3 separate regions of the Homo sapiens genome follow, and all the other regions are linked to region 3. The links are contacts of gene promoters, found by promoter capture Hi-C in blood cells and fetal thymus (Javierre and others, 2016). All regions are on one chromosome and are shown on one strand. Each heading gives the region's core, a stretch centred on a gene start or on the middle of the fragment in contact. The rest is flanking DNA. Distances are from core to core; before and after follow the strand shown. Region 1 overlaps BIRC3 (baculoviral IAP repeat containing 3). Region 2 has its middle 15 kb from the start of BIRC3. Region 3 holds the start of NPAT (nuclear protein, coactivator of histone transcription).

Evidence for each region. Contacts are between HindIII fragments. The CHiCAGO score rates a contact against its expected background, and 5 or more counts as called.
Region 1: a contact is called between a fragment that was not itself captured here and the fragment with the promoter of NPAT in region 3, in 1 of 17 cell types (total CD8 T cells). The highest score is 5.9, in total CD8 T cells.
Region 2: a fragment that was not itself captured here is called in contact with the fragment with the promoter of NPAT in region 3 in 1 of 17 cell types (non-activated CD4 T cells); the score reaches 6.7 in non-activated CD4 T cells.

What each region holds. Positions count from the first base shown.
Region 1 is chr11:102,319,292-102,322,555 of GRCh38, reverse strand. BIRC3 (baculoviral IAP repeat containing 3) reads right to left here. Exons shown (of 9, transcript NM_001165.5): 2 at 1-719. Among named protein-coding and RNA genes, the nearest start is that of BIRC3, 3.4 kb to the right of the region's middle. RefSeq lists enhancers at 2,090-2,199, 2,821-2,900. The HindIII fragment of the contact is 808 bases long and covers 1,577-2,384 here.
Region 2 is chr11:102,300,544-102,304,271 of GRCh38, reverse strand. No RefSeq gene overlaps it. Among named protein-coding and RNA genes, the nearest start is that of BIRC3, 15 kb to the left of the region's middle. The HindIII fragment of the contact is 3,302 bases long and covers 235-3,536 here.
Region 3 is chr11:108,220,358-108,223,887 of GRCh38, reverse strand. NPAT (nuclear protein, coactivator of histone transcription) reads left to right here and starts at 1,250. Exons shown (of 18, transcript NM_002519.3): 1 at 1,250-1,388. The coding sequence starts at 1,352. It overlaps ATM (ATM serine/threonine kinase), which reads right to left and starts at 821. Exons shown (of 63, transcript NM_000051.4): 1 at 702-821. RefSeq lists enhancers at 335-414, 725-884, 1,295-1,354. The HindIII fragment of the contact is 4,203 bases long and covers 1-1,481 here.

The sequences.
Region 1 (3,264 bases), core at 731-3,230, 5.9 Mb after region 3:
TTATATTAATTTTCTAAGTTTCTTCATTTCCTAAAATGTAACCTTCAACCATCATTCTCATCCTCATCATTCTCAGCGGTAACAGCCCATTTAAACAAACTTTTGGACGTTTAAAATATCAGTGGCCTTGTAAATAACTGGATAATTTCTTGACCAATCATCACATTTATCTTTTTACTTCCTCTAAATTTGTTGCACATATCAAAAAGCTTTGTTCTTGATTTTTCTTTGTCACTGTAGAAGTATTTTAATGTGTCAAAACTTTCATCTGCATGTTTCTTTAATTTGCAGTGGATTGATTATTAGCTCTTTGTTCCAAATAACTGTCACTCATTTTAAAATCTTTCCCAAACACAGGTACTATTTCTATTCTACATAATGGGAGAATGTGCCAGTAGGAGACTGCCTGGCCAACTCTGAAAAAAATGCTTTAACAATATGCCCCAGCTAGAATCACTTTTCCTTTATTTCCACAAATCAAATTCAAAATCAAACTCATTATGGTATACCTTATATAACTCGATCATGTTTATAAAATTAGCATTCTTTGGATAGTAAAACACCAGTTAATACTTAATTTGTTTACCCATGCACAAAACTACCTCCCGAGATTAGACTAAGTCCCTTTAAGGATTTTAGGTCTCCATTTTGAGATGTTTTGATTTATAGAAGAAACTGAAAAAAAAATCTAGAAGAAGTCGTTTTCCTCCTTTGTAAACCTGTTCAAAAACAAACAAAAAGACAGTTTTAAAACTCAAACGACTCATGGATGGAACACAATGACTTTTTAAAAAATCATTTTCTCCAAAATAGAGTACTAGTAATTACTGATCGTTTACCATGTATCAGGTGCTTTACTAGGCACTGTAGAGGCCAAAAAGAGATAAAAAACAGAGGCCTCTGCCTGGTGCAGTGGCTCACGCCTGTAATCCCAGCATTTTGGGAGGCCAAGACAAGTGGATCACTTGAGGTCAGGAGTTCAAAACCAGCCTGGCCAAAATGGTGAAACCCCATCTCTACTAAAAATACAAAAATTAGCTGGGTGTGGTGGTACGCGCCTGTAATCCCAGCTACTCCGGAGGCTGAGGCAGGAGAATCATGTGAGCCTGGGAGGTGGAGGTTGCAGTGGGCCGAAATAGTGCCACTACACTCCAGCCTGGGTGACACAGCAAGACTCTGTCTCAAAAATAAAATAAAATAAAATAAAACCCAGAGGTTTCAAACTGGAAGACATATTATGTTTGGCTTACATAGAATTGCATTATAGTTCTTTACTAAGTTTTTATTTTTATTTTGAAATTTATTTATACTTAGAGAAAGCTTACAAAAATAATAGTTTCTGCATACTCTGCACTTAGCTTCCCCAAAGCTAACATCTTACCTAATTACAGTGCAATTAAAGAAACCAGAAAATTCACATTGTACCATGCTGTAGATTAATCTGCATGCCTCATTTGAATTTAATCCAGTTTCCAAATCCATTTTTTTCTTGGACCACAGTATTTTTAAATCTTACCATTAATTGCCAACATGTTTAAATGTAAGAGACTTCCCATCACATTCTAGATTCCAAGCTTCTCTTGAAACATCAAAAGATCTAGCAACACTGGGCCTATAGTCCTGCAGGGCAGCAATCAGCTAAAGCTGAGCAGCAGCTGTGCCCTTTAGAGAGGGAACATGTTCTCTTTGATTCCCTGACACTGGGACTGACTGTTCTGGTAGTCTCCACTAACAGTAACAGTCTAGCAATAACAGACTGTTGCTATTTGTCATTGAACTGGCACTATTGTTTTTCTTACAGCAGAATTATGAGAAAGTGAAATCAATGTAACACATGTGTCCATCAAAAGTAACAAAAATGAAAAGTAGAGAAAAAGGACATATGTTTTGAGAAAAATAGGATAATTTTTGTCTTTGTGGAAAGGAAGGATATTCCTTCATATCAAATACGTAAACAGAGTATGCTTTCATTTAAAAGAGACACCCCACAAGGCCTCATGCCATGGCTCACTCCTGTAATCCCAGCACTTTGGGAGGCTGAGGTAGATGGATTGCTTGAGCCCAGGTGTTTGAGACCAGCCTCAAACTGGGTGACTTGGCAAAACACCATCTCTACAAAGAAACTCAAAAATTAGCCAGACATGGTGGCACCTGCCTGTGGTCCCAGCTACTTGAGAGGCTGAGGCAGGAGGTTCACTTGAGCCCATGAGGCAGAGCTTGCAGTGTGAGACTGCATAACTGCACTCCAAACTGGGTGACAGAGCAAGACCCTGTCTCAAAAAAAGAGAGAGAGAGAGAAAGAGAGACACTGAGAGTTTTTCTCATTTATATCACCTCCATTTGAGTTTGCAAACCCCTTACACAAATCTTATCCTAAAGAAGCTTTAGGTCAGGCGTGGTGGCTCACGCCTGTAATCCCAGCACTTTGGGAGGCCAAGGAAAGCAGATAACTTGAGATCAGGAGTTCGAGACCAGGCTGGCCAACATGGTGAAACCCTGTCTCTACTAAAAATCCAAAAAAAAAAACCATCGGGCGTGGTGGCACGCACCTGTATTTCCAGCTACTCAGGAGACTGAAGCAGGAGAATCACTTGAACCCGGGAGGTGAAGGTTGCAGTAAGCCAAGATCACACCACTGCACTCCAGCAAGGCATATATTTGTGGAAATTTAGGCAACAACTATACAATAAATATACACAAATATGCCAAGATGTCAACCCTAGATCACTTCAACCTCTGTCCTAATCATTTCCAACACCTAGATGCAACCCTGCAGACTGGGACCAGCATCACTTAAGACTCCTCTGCCATCCCTTAGCAATAGGCTCAGCTCCCTAGCCCATGCCCTATGCACCTCTTCTAAACCTTCAACACCTTCCTCAAATTTCTCCACTGCACTCCATCTCATTTTCAGTCAATTACTTTGCCTTCTGTTTCTCAAAGAAAAGAGACATCATTGAGCAGGAACCTTCTCACGTTCTCATATCCAAGCCGTTTTGGCTCACAACCTACTTGCTGTCTCAGTTAAAGACTTGCCCCCTTATGGGATCCTACACTGTCCTACTGCCTCAGAAATCTTGTTCTTAATCCCATCCCCTCATTGCTTCAACTCTCATTCCTGTCACTCTCGACTGGCCTTTTTCCTTTCACATAACCATGCTTAAATCTATCTCAACTTTCAAATGAAAGAAATTTTTAAAATTCTCTTTCGGCCGGGTGTGGTGGCTCATGCCTGTAATCCCAGCACTTCAGGAGGCTGAGGCG
Region 2 (3,728 bases), core at 636-3,135, 5.9 Mb after region 3:
GAAATGTAATTCCCAATGTTGGAGGTGGAACCTAATGGGAGGTATTGGATCATGGGACAGATCCTTCATGAATGGCTTAGCACCATCTCCTTCATAATGAATAGGTTCTCACTCTGTCAGTCACCTGAGCTCTGGTTGTTTAAAAGAGCATGGAACTTCCTTCCACTCTCTCTTTCTCCTCTTCTCTCCATGTGACATGCTGGCTCCCATCACCTTCTGCCATGATTGTAAGCTTCTTGAGGCCTCATCAGAAGCAGATACCAGTGCCATGCTTCTGGTAAAGCCTGCAGGATTGTGAGCCAATTAAACCTTTTTTTCTTTATAAATTACCCAGCCTTGGGTATTTTTATATAGCAATGCAAGAATGGACTAACATAGAAAATTGGTACTGGGGAGGAAGGCATTGCTATAAAGATACCTGAAAATGTGAAATTGGCTTTGCAACTGAGTAACAAACAGAGGCTGAAAGAGTTTGGAGGGGTCAGAAGAAGACAGGAAGATGAGGGAAAGTTTGAATGGTTGTGACCAAAATGCTGATAGAAATATGGAAAGTGAGAGCAAAGCTGACAAGGTCTTAGATGGAAATGAGGAAGTTATTGGGAACTGGAGCAAAGGCCACCCTTGTTACACCCTAGCAAAAAAACTTGGCTGTATTGTGTCCATGCTCTAGGAAATTGCAGAAGTTTGAACTTAAGAATGATGATGTAGGGTATCTGGCAGAAGAAATTTCTAAGCAGCAAATTATTCAAGATGTAGCATGGGCCAGGCGCGGTGGCTCACGCCTGTAATCCCAGCACTTTGGGAGGCCAAGGCGGGTGGATCACGAGGTCAGGAGATCGAGACCATCCTGGCTAACACGGTGAAACCCCGTCTCTACTAAAACTACAAAAAATTAGCCAGGCGTGGTGGCGGGCGCCTGTAGTCCCAGCTACTCGGGAGGCTGAGGCAGGAGAATGGCATGAACCTGGGAGGCAGAGCTTGCAGTGAGCCAAGATAGCACCACTGCACTCTAGCCTGGGCAACAGAGCAAAACTCTGTCTAAAAAAAAAAAAAAAAAAAAGATGTAGCATGGCTGCTTCTAAGAGCCTATATCAGATGAAGGAGCAAAGAAATGACTTAAATAAGTTGGAACTTATATATAAAAGGGAAGCAGAGCATAAAAGTTTGGAAAATTTTCTGCCTGGCTCTGTGGTAGAGAAAGAATCCAAGCAGGCTGTGGACCAACCACTTGCTAAAGAGACTGGCATAACTAAAAGGGAGCCAGGTGCTAATATCCATGACAATGGGAAGAAGGACTTAAAGACATTTCAGAAATCTTTGAGGCAGCCCCTCTCATTACAGGTCAGAGGCCTAGGAGGAAAGAATTATTTCAGGGGCCAGGCACAGGGCATTGCTTCCCTGCTCAGTCTTAGGACCCCACTCTCTGCATCCTGGCCACTCCAGCTCCACCCATGGCTCACAGGGCCATAGGTACAGCTCAAGCTGCCACTTTGGAAAGTGCAAACCACTGTAAGCCTTGGCAGCTTCCACATGGTGTTAAGGCTGCAGGTGTACAAAATGCAAGAGTAAAGGAGGCTTGGCAACTCCCACCTAGATTCCAGAGGATATATGGAAAAGCCTAGATGCCCAGGCAGAAGCCTGCAGTAGGGACAGAGTCCCTACAGAGAAATGCTACTAGGGCAGTACTGAGAGGAAATGTGGGGTTTGAGACCCTACAGAGTCCCCAGCAGGACACTGCCTAGTGGAGCTGTAGGAAGAGGGCCACGAACCTCCAGACCTGAGAATGGTAAAGCCACAGCAGCTTGCAAGCTCAGCATGAAAAAGCCACAGGAACTTAACTCCAGCCCATTAGAGCAGCCACAAATTGCATTCTGTAAAGCCATAAGGGCAAAGCTGCCCAAGGCTTTGGGAACCCACATCTTGCACCAGTATGCCCAGGATACAGGACATGGAGGCAAGGGAAATTATTTTGGAATTTAAAGTTTAATGCCTACCCTGCTGGGTTTCAGACTTGCATGGGGCCAATTGCCTCTTTCTTTTGGCTGATTTCTCCCTTTTGGAATAGAGTGTCTACTCAATGCCTCTACCACCATTGTATCTTGGGTGTAAATAACTTGTTTTGACTTCACAGGTTTGTAGGTAAAAAGAACTCAACTTGAGACTCAGATGTGACTTTGGACTTTTGATTGAATTGATGCTGGAATGAGGTAAGGCTTTGGGGGACTGTTAGAAAGGATGAATGTATTTTATAATGTGAGAAGGACATGAGATTTGAGGGGCCAGAAGGGGAATGATATGGTTTGGGTGTTTGACTCCTCCTAATCTCATGTTGAAATGTAATCCTCAATCTTGGAGGTGGGGCCAAGTGGGAGATATTGGATCATGGGGGCAGATCTTTGATGAATGGCATCACCTTCATGATGAGTGGGTTCTCACTCTGTTAGTTCACCTGAGATCTGGTTATTTTTAAAAGGGCATGGCATTTCCTCCCTCTCTTTCTTGCTCTTGTTCTCTCCATGTGACATGCTGGATCCCGATTGCCTTCCAACATGATTGTAACCTTTCTGAGGCCTCACCAGAAGCAGATGCCAGCACTATGCTTCCTTAAAGCCTGCCAAACCATGAGACAATTAAATCTCTTTTCATTGTAAATCACCCAGCCTCGGGGATTTCTTTATAGCAATGTAAGAATAGACTAATGCATATGTTAAGTGAATTCTTATTTAGAATAGATTAAAAAAATTAGACATTAAAACCATCTGACTAAGACTTGTTTTCCAAGGTGGCTGAATAAGAAGAGCTCCGGTCTGCAGCTCCCAGCATGATCGATGCAGAAGATGGGTGATTTCTGCATTTCCAACTGAGGTACCTGGTTCATCTAATTGGGACTGGTTGGACAGTGGGTGCAGCCCACGGAGGGCGAGCCAAAGCAGGGTGGGGCATTGCCTCACCCGGGAAGCACGAGAGATTGGGGGATTTCCTTTCCCTAGCCAAGGGAAGCCAGGACAGAATGTACCTGGAAAAACAGGACACTCCCGCCCAAATACTGCACTTTTCCCAAGGTCTTAGCAACTGGCAGACAAGGAGATTCTCTCCTGTGCCTGGCTCAGTGGGTCTCATGCCCATGGAGCCTTGCTCACTGCTAGCACAGCAGACTGAGATCAAACAGTGAGGTGGCAGCCTGGCTGGGGGAGGGGCATCTGCCATTGCTGAGGCTTGAGTAGGTAAACAAACTAGCCAAGAAGCTCGAACTGGGTGGAGCCCACTGTAGATCAGCAAGGTCTACTGCCTCTATAGACTCCACATCTGTGGGCAGGGCATAGCTGAACAAAAGACAGCAGACAGCTTCTGCAGACTTAAATGTCCCTGTCTGACAGTTCTGAAGAGAGTGGTGATTCTCCTAGCATGGTGTTTGAGCTCTGAGAAAGCACAGACTACCTCCTCAAGTGGGTCCCTGTGTAGCCTAACTGGGAGGCACCTCCCAGTAGGGGACAATAGACACCTCATATAGGTGGGTGCCCCTCTGGGATGAAGCTTCCAGAGGAAGGATCAGGGAGCAACATTTGCTATTCTCCAATATTTGCTGTTCTGCAGCCTCCGCTGGTGATACCCAGGCAAACAGGGTGTGGAGTGGACCTCCAGCAAACTCCAACAGACCTGCAGCTGAGGGACCTGACTATTAGAAGGAAAACTAACACACAGAAAGGAATAGCACCAACATCAACAAA
Region 3 (3,530 bases), core at 1-2,500:
ACACTTTGTGCCTTTACACGCATTTTTCCTTCCATCTGGAAGGCTTCTACCATCTGCCAAGGTAACACTGCGAGGTCTCACCACAAACTGAATTGATAGTCTCAGGCTGAGTTTGCAGAGAACCAAAGTCACTCCTCTACCATCAGAGTACTCCCCTATCACCACATACATTATCATCCACTGTAGTTGTCTTATCTGTACCTGGTAAATACAGCAGCTAACGCTCACGAGTGCTCACCACAGGTCAAGATTATCTCACTTATCTTCACAAGACAGTAGAGAGCGGCCACACGACTGACAGAATTCCAATTCCAGCCGTATGATTCCAGAGCCCAAGCTCTTAACCGCGAGGCTGAAGTTGAAATATCAATAAATGCTCGCTGACTAAAAGTACTAAATACGAGAGAGAGATCAAAAGATGACTAGTCAAGTCGCGTAGTTAAATCTGAACCCTAAGGTGACACAAAAAGAGGATGCGCAGGAGGCAGGGTTCAATTCAGGGCGTTTAAAAGGAGGAGGTTATTGGCCAAGTCCGCTAAGCACCCGGAGAGAGGCCAGGAAAGATGGAGTGAGGAGAGGGAGGAGTCAAGGGCCACTCTGGAGGGGTGCATGAGATTGGCGGTCTGGGGAGAGGACAGACTGGGTCGCACACGACTGAATTTCCCAGCGCAGAAGCCGCTGCGTTGCCTCCGCGCCCCTACCACTGCACTCGGAAGGTCAAAGTAGTATCAACCGCGGCGGTGGCTGCAGCGCAGATCCCGACTCCTCTCGCCTCCTCCCGCGGCCACGGCTTCTTTTCTCCGTTAGCCACGCAGCTACCTACTCCCGCTTCCGGTTCAAACCCTGCGTGACTGCCCAGCGCCCACTTCTGGAGGAAGAAGCAACGCCAAGCAGCCGCAGAGCACGGTATGCCCATGCGCATCCAGTATCACGCGGTCTCCGCGCTCAAAACACTGCCCCAAAACATTCGGCCCGTCGGAGCAAACGCGCCTGCGCCATGTCCACCAATGGCCAGCGACTTAGCGTTTGCGGCTCGCCCTTCGGCTCGGGCTCCGGGGCTCTCACCCACCCTCTTCGCCCTCGTCGTCCTCCCCGCCCTCCTCATCCCCGCCCCTCCAAGTCTGAGGACGGAAGTGACGACAGTTCCGAAGGCGAACGGAGGCGGGTTTCATTTCGGCGCCTTTCTTTCTCTGGCGGAAGCGATTGGCTGCCGTGAAGCGAAAGAGGCGGGACAAATTGCCGCGAGTTCAGTGCCGCCACTGGAACCAGGAGATGCGGCGCAGGAGCTGTCGCTGTGTTTGCTTTAACCTGAGTCTTGTTCCTTATTGTGGTTCCTGCTGTGGTTTTGATCATGTTGTTACCCTCGGACGTAGCCCGGCTTGTATTGGGTAAGCGCGGACGCGGGATGGAGGGTTATTGGACCCGGCTATGCTGGACAGAAGGACCTTTGAGGCCAAAGGTTTTCCCTTGGTAGGGAAGCTTTGGGGTTTTGCCTCCCAGCTTACGAGTTGAGACTGGCGGTGATTCTTCGTCATTCGGAGGTTCTGGGCAGTTTAAGCCTCTTTGTATGTAGATGCTCCTCTCTTCAGAGGCTGCGTGGCGAGGGGAAGCCCGAGGGGAAGCTCGGGGTGGAACACCTGGGGCGGATTCGGAAGGAAAGTCAGGCCTCCACACTTAATTAGGACCCCTGAAAGAGCATTTGTCTGCATGACGGACGGATTGCGTGTGCTTCAACCTTGGGCGCAATTTCCTTGGTTCAGTGTTGGGACCAAAATAGGGCAAATAGGGAGTTCCCCGGCCCCCCATCTTTGTAGAGAGACCTTCCTGGCGCCCTTCTAATAACCCGCCCTTATAACTACGAATTTGGGAGTAGGGGTGATCTTCCTTCTCCATCCTCCACGCAATACGTCGTCCAGTGTAGAGGTGTGAAATGCCAGTTGCATATTTTAAAACAGCAATTCCTGTTCCTTTGATCAGCGAAAAATTTCAGAGGGTTAATTGCCTTAAATTAGTTGAACGTTTTCTAGCCCTAGTTTTACCTTCATTTGAGGAGGGATTGTTTGTGGGTCACTTGTCTGTCAGGGTGTATTGTCTGTGTGAGAGACGGGTTTTGTTGTTGTTTGTCCCCTGAAAGAATAAAGAGGATTGTACTACAGGGGACGAGAGCCAGGTAAAGCTCAAAACCCGAGCCAGTAATTTACGGACGTCGTATGCGACGTCCCTAAAAGTAAATGGCAAGCATCTGTGATGAAACCTCCCATAGTATTCACAGCCATTACTACTATTATTTTATTGTTCGGAAAACCCATTTGTCTTGTGCCTCTTTTAAATGCCCAGCGCTGTCCACAAAAATGTTATTTGCGCAGGGCTCTTGATAAGCACATTTTGCAGGAAACGTTAAACGGAAATGGTTCCACCATCCATTTTTGAAGAAACTTAATGACAAGTTTAATGTTTTGTTAATGTCTGATTAATCTTTTGCTTAAGAATTCTGAGTTTTGGCAGTTTGGTAATCTAGTTGAGTTTCGGTAACTATAGTCTTAAACATGGTTTCTCAGCCTCAGTACTGTTAACATTTTGGGCCTCATAATTCTTTATTGTGGGGAGCTATCCTGTGCTCAAACATTGTAGGATGTTTAGCAGCATTCCTGGCTTCTATTCACTAGATTACAGTAGGACACCCGTTCCCCACCCTACCCTTACCCAGTTGTGATCAGTGAAAATGTCTCTAGATATTGCTAGTATGTCCCCTGGAGGGCAGAATCACCCCTAGTTAAGAAAGCCCTAAGAAAGCAGTATCATTTTCTAATTGAAATAATTCACATCGATGTGTGAGTATTCTTTCTCCACAAACCAGCTACTCTGCTGACTTCCTGCTTTTCATTTAATGGACAAAAAACGCCAGCCATGGTTTTCTTATCTTAAAAATCTTTGTCATTCACATTCCATTTTCACTGCCACCAATCCCGCAATGTGCCTGCCATTACTTCTCTTTTGGACTTCTGTCATGGCTTCCCAGACAGTTGTCCTCGCAATTCATTTTATTTACTGTTGTTACAAATCTCCCTGAAGCTTTCACACTATACCTTTTAGTCTGAAAGTTGAGATAATTCTATTCTTACTAAAAATTTCAGATGGGCAGGAGTATACAATACAAAAAAGCCTCCCCATGCCTAATGCTCTTACTTTTGTCGTTTATCATTTTACATCTTAAATAGATACATATCGTGTATATCTTTCTCATATGAGGTTTATTATTTACTCATGATTCTTTTCCTATCAGTACCCCCTCGCCATCTTCAGCTCCTCTTGTTATTGGTCCCTTCATAATGTTTTTTTTCTAGCAAATCTTTGGGTGCCTAGTATGTTCCAAACACTGTGCCAATTGCTGAACATAGAGAAGTTAAGTTTTCTCCCCTTAGTGTTCAGATAATTAGGTTTTTTTTAAATTCTTAAACATACACACAAAAAAACACTTTTCTGGACCCCACTAGACATTAGACACCCATTAAACAGAACATTCTGTCTTA